Regions from separate parts of the Homo sapiens genome. Here region 1 is linked to region 2. The links are contacts of gene promoters, found by promoter capture Hi-C in human tissues and cell types (Jung and others, 2019). All regions are on one chromosome and are shown on one strand. Each heading gives the region's core, a stretch centred on a gene start or on the middle of the fragment in contact. The rest is flanking DNA. Distances are from core to core; before and after follow the strand shown. Region 1 holds the start of TMEM50A (transmembrane protein 50A). Region 2 has its middle 8.9 kb from the start of MAN1C1.

Region 1 (2,785 bases), core at 197-2,696, 270 kb before region 2:
CCGCCAAAAACAAACAAAAAAACCCAAAGGGATGAAAGTTTCATCCATCAAAGGAAACAACAGTCACCTTGGTTCCCATCCCACTCATATACTGCCGCCGTACATGTCAATCAGATGAACCTGTGCGTATCTCTTAACGACAATTGACCCACCTTTTTAACTGAAGTGAAGGGGGGTTCTGCTCCGCGACCACTTCCTGGATCTCTCCCTTCACCCTCTGTGTTCTTTCGGGTGCACCATCGGGTCAAAGCCGCAGCAACGCCGTCTCTGTGTGATCGCATGTGCCCTTCTGCACACGACCTTCCCCCGAGAGTGACCAGCTACCGGACAGGCACCAAGGAGGGCTACCGAGCACCTCCCGGACCGGCGGCTGCAGGATCGCGAGCGCCTCCGCTAGGGAGACCGCACGTTGCGCCTGTGCTTCCTGCGGTGGCGCCTTCTGCAAGGAGACCTCGACCCTGCTCCCTCTCCGGGGCTGGATCTGACTCCTTGACGGTGATTCCAGACGCGAGACCCAAACTGACGGCTTCTAGAAGAGGGGCGAGCCCGGCCGCAAGTCTTTCACGTAGCTAAGTCATCGTTGCTTCCGGCTTCTTACCGTTCTCCCCTTTGTAAACGGTTACCTCCCGAAAACCCAGGCTCTCCTCCAACAGTGGTTCTCAAGCGAGGCGATCTTCCCCGGGAGGGGATATTTGGCAAAGTCTGGGGGCATTTTTGGTTCACTGGGGCTGCTACTTGCATCCACTGGGTAGAGGCGGGGGATGCAGCTACACAACCTGCGAAGCACGGGACAGCACCCTCCCCAACCCAGACAGAATTAGCCGGCCCAAAACCTCAGTAGTGCCCAGGCTGAGAAACCCTGCCTTAAACAAACAACAAAGAAAGGCCAAGTCCCATAAGTGGGTCACCGCGCCGAGACTGGGGTCCACGGGACACCCCAGCCACGCCAAGCCGGGAAGTCCCCGCCTCCTGGAGCTGAACCCGCCCCTCTCCCAGAGGTGGAGCTGCGGGGGGCGGGAACAGGCACGGAGAAAATAAACAAGACTAAAAAGTCCTGAGTAGCGCTGTGTGGCCGCAAACCTGAACCCACCTTTTGCACCACGCGGGACCCGGCACTCTTCCTGCCACCCACCCCTGAGAGGGCTGCGCGGCCGACCCCAGTACTAGAAAACACTCGTCACCTCACTCAAGACGGGTACGAAGGCCAACGGACGCCTTCCTTTAGAACGCTCAGCACACAGAGCAACTTCTCACGCCTACTCTCAAATGGCGTACTCCAAACTAGCACTCCCGACGTCCAGCTGTGAACCCAGAGCGGCGGAAAGCCCCTGAACCCAGCGCCCGGGCATGCGCAGACGCGTTGTTGTGGTGGGCGTGGCTCCCTCCGGACCCGGCGCCCCGCCCTCCGCCCCGTGTCCGCATGCGCGACTGAGCCGGGTGGATGGTACTGCTGCATCCGGGTGTCTGGAGGCTGTGGCCGTTTTGTTTTCTTGGCTAAAATCGGGGGAGTGAGGCGGGCCGGCGCGGCGCGACACCGGGCTCCGGAACCACTGCACGACGGGGCTGGACGTAAGTGTCGGGCGGGGAGTGGGGGTAAGAGAGTAGCGGCCGCAGGCTGGAGAGGCCTCGGAGCCGGGGCCGTCTGACGGGCTGGTGCCCACAGCACAGGCTCGTTGCCGCCACCCTCCCGGAAGCCGCAGACCCGGGCTGAGCCGCCGCGGACCTCTCCTCTCCTGGGTCCGGCGGCGCCAGGAGAAGGCGACGGCGTCCAGACCCCGCCAAGACGGAGAGGGGACCGCGCCCTCCCCCGGGACACCCCAGGATCCCTGGAAAATCCCCCGATCCCCCACTTCACAGCTGGACAAGCCGAAGCCCCGAGAAAGGAGCGTGACCCGGCCAGCTCCCTCAGCGAGGGGTGCCCCGGCTAAAGGTGGCTCCCCCATCTTCCAGCGGCGTCCCTCGAGACCTAAAAGTCCCAGAGTTTGGAGGGCGGGGTCTGGCTTGAGCGTACCAGTCGTCGTGCAAAGAAAAATGGATTCGGGGTGGGGCCATTGGGATGAACCGAAAATAACACTTATTGAATTGCAGTTCTTCCCGGGGAAGAATCAAATGAGTGAATTTCCTAAATTGAACTTGTCCCAAAGGCATCTTAGCATTGGCTGTAATCATATATTTTAATATTTAATTTTTAAAAGAGAAGTTAAAAATGGGAGACGTTGCTCTATTGTAGGGTGTCATATTTTTGGACAACCATAATTGCTGGCTACAAAGTATCTTAAGGAAGTCAAGTTCGCTGTAGGAGTTTGGGTGTTGTTATTCGCAAGTTATATGTATTTCAGGCTTTTTCATACTCTGAAATAGAGATAACATGGCTGTATCTCAGGTCTCTACTGCTCGGCTTACAGGAATGTTTTATATAATTTGTAAAGACAGCTTGGGTCGGCTATATTTAAATAGCAGTTGGATTTTTGTAATCTGAATTACTATTAACCACGATTCTGTGCTTGCTTTTGGCTGGAAACACCCGTTAGGATCAGAGATAGGGATATTAAAGTGGATGTTCTTTATATAGAAATGACACCAAAAGGCAGGCTTGCAGAAAGAAAAATAATGAATGAAGTGAAAGGAAATGATGTGGGTAGAGGTAAGAACTGCAGTGCAGTGTTTAATTTCTTGATTTAGGTGTGAAGAAACACACGTTCTGTGATAAAATATGTAAATTAGAGAAATATTTTTCATTTGAATCTGTAATTCCACTCAGAGCCAAAGTTTATCACTTGTCTCT
Region 2 (3,017 bases), core at 350-2,849:
CAAGGATCGATTGTACAACCTGGTGTCTATAGTTAATAGCTATGTATTATATACTTGAAAACTGCTGAGAGGAGACTTTAAGTGTTCTCTCCATAAATAGGTGAGATAATGCATATATAAATTAGCTTGATTTAGCCATTCCACAATGTGCATAGATGTCAAAACATCGTGCTGTACACCATAAATGTATACAAGTTGTATTTGTCAATTTAAAAAATAAAAAAATGCCAAGGGGCCAGTATCATTATCCTCATTTTCCAAATAAGAAAACAGGCTCAGAGTGGATGTCTGAGGGCTTGAATGTGGCAGGACCCAGAACTGCTCACGGCCCCGTGACTCCAACACTCTTTGCACAGCTGTGCACAGCTCTCCTTGCAATGCCCAGAGAAGGTTATGCCCTCCACAGCTACAAAGATATTGGGTCTTCTGTGGCAAAACCCTGGTGACAGTGGATGCCCTGGGGTGACCACGCCGTCTTCCATCTGAATGTATCCTCCTACTGTCTGCTGTGTTAGAGATGAGGCATTATGAGAAGGAGAAACTATTTGTCAAATGTAATTAACAATTAGAAATGACCTAAATGTCTAACGGTAGCAGATTGGGTAAATAAATAATCATAGAGCCACATAAGAAGTACTATTTGGCTGTTCAGAACAATTAAGTAGAAGAGTATTTAATTTCATGGAAATGCTCCTGACATATTGGTACATTAGAAAAAGCAGACTGCCTAAGCAGTGAGCATGGTACAATTCCATTTTAACAACAACAACACACATATCATAACGAGTCAACATTTATATACCCATACTCATATTCATAGCAGCATATTCACAATAACGAAAACATAGAAGCAAACCAAGTGTGCATCGATGGATGAATGGACAGGGAAAATGTGGCAGATACACACGATGGAATATTATTCAGCCTTAAATGGGAAGAAAGTTCTGTCACATGCTACCAAATGGATGAACTGTGAGGACACTGCGCTAAGTGAAGTGAGACAGTCACAAAAAGACAAATACTGTATGATTCCACTTATATGAGGTGCTTAAAGTAGTCAAATTCATAGAAACAGAAAGTAGAATAGTGGTTACCAGGGGCTGGGCGATGGGAAGAATGCGGAGTTAGTGTTTAATGAGTACAGAGTTTCAGTTTTAGGGGATGATAAGTTGCTGGACAGCACAGCTGTCCATAGGAACCAGCCATAAGCCACTGGGGCTTGCAGTGCACTGGAAATGTGGCTCGCCTGAATTGCGATGGGCTATAAATGTAAAACCCACTGTAGATTGTAAGACTTGGTATGTAAAAAAGAATATAACTTTTCTCATGAAGGATTTTTTTTTTTTTGAGATGGAGTCTCGCTCTGTTGCCCAGGCTGGAGTGCAGTGGCATGATCTCAGCTCACTGCAACTTCCGCCTCCTGGGTTCAAGAGATTCTCCTGCCTCAGCCACCCGCATAGCTGGGACTACAGGTTTGTGCTACCAGGCCTGGCTAATTTTTGTATTTTTAGTAGAGATGGGGTTTCTCCATGTTGGCCAGGCTGGTCTCGAGCTCCTGACCTCAAGTGATCTACCTGCCTGGGCCTCCCAAAGTGCTGGGATTACAGGCATAAGCCACTGCGCCTGGCCTCACGAAGGATTTACCAAAAAAAAAAAAAAAAAAAGATTTGGCTGGACACAGTGGCACACGCCTGTAATCCCAGCACTTTGGGAGGCCGAGGCGGGTGGATTGTCTGAGCTCAGGAGTTTGAGACCAGCTTGGGCAATATGGTGAAACCCCATCTCTACTAAAATACAAAAAATTAGCCGGGCGTGGCAGCGTGCACCTGTAGTCCCAGCTACTCAGGAGGCTGAGGCAGGAGAATCGCTTGAACCCGGGAGGCGGAGGCTGCAGTGAGCCAAGATCGCACCACTGCACTCCAGCCTGGGTGAGAGTGAGACTCTGACTCCAAAAAAAAAAAAAAAAAAAAAAAAAAAAAAATGGAAATGATAATCTTTTGGATGTATGGGATTAAATAAAATATATTATTAAAATTAGTTTTACCTTAAAAAAAAACTTTTGAAAAGTTAAAAATTCAGTGGCTCCAAAACTCAGAAGTCTACACCACACACATTAATCTCTCATTTAAGCCCCATGCCGGTGCAGCCAGTGCGGATCCTCAGAAGGCTCTGCTGGTCACCGGGGCCCTGGCGGAGGGTGCAGCTGCCATCTCATCACTGTCAGTCGCCCTGCTAGTGGGACAGTCGCAGCTCTAGAGGATATGGCACCCTCAATTAAATGCTTGGGACTCGAAGTGACAGTTGTCATTTCTGCTCACAGCTTATTGGCCACAGCTAGTCACACGGCTCCACTCAACCACAAGGGGGCGGGGCAATCTCACCAAGTGCCCCAAAGGCAGCGATCTGGAACTATTTGGCGAACAGGGCAAAATGACTAGCTCCGTGCAGCTTTTTTATTTCTTTAAAATACATAGAATAGAATAATTTTTAAAACGTAGAACGGAATAAAATAAGAAATATAGTATGTTTAGAATTTTTAATTTAAAACTTTAAATATTAGGTTATGTTTAATTTTTTTTTATATCATGTGTGAGGTACAATAAATATTTGTGGAATGTTGACAGTTCTTTCTGAAAAGGGATCACAGCTATAATGAATATGACTTTTTGGCTTTATTACTAACAAAGTGCTTGCCCGGGGGTCATCTCATTTAAGGTATTATGGGCCTCTTTGCAGATGAAGAAACTGATCTAAGACAGATGAGTGACCTCCCCAGGTCACCCAATCAAGTGGCAGAAGTGGGACTTGGGAACAAGTAAGATAACCCATGAGACTTCTTCTTCAAACCCCAATATTTCTTCTCTTTCCTATATCAACCTCAAATCTTAAGCTTGCTATTCTTTACTTCGTTTAATAACACTAACATTTAACATACTGAGTACTATCATCACTGCTAAGGAAACTAATGCTCAGAGGAGGAGACTTGCCCAAGGTTACGTGTCCCTGAAGAGGCAAGA

Evidence for each region. Contacts are between HindIII fragments. The study calls those that stand out against the background at their distance.
Region 1: the fragment with the promoter of TMEM50A here is called in contact with a fragment that was not itself captured in region 2 in 1 of the 25 tissues and cell types used here (dorsolateral prefrontal cortex).

Annotation. Positions count from the first base shown.
Region 1 is chr1:25,336,888-25,339,672 of GRCh38, forward strand. TMEM50A (transmembrane protein 50A) reads left to right here and starts at 1,447. Exons shown (of 7, transcript NM_014313.4): 1 at 1,447-1,569. It also overlaps a transcript of RSRP1 not described here. RefSeq lists silencers at 1-285, 1,277-1,396. The HindIII fragment of the contact is 15,215 bases long and covers 1-2,785 here.
Region 2 is chr1:25,606,418-25,609,434 of GRCh38, forward strand. No RefSeq gene overlaps it. Among named protein-coding and RNA genes, the nearest start is that of MAN1C1, 8.9 kb to the right of the region's middle. The HindIII fragment of the contact is 7,929 bases long and covers 1-3,017 here.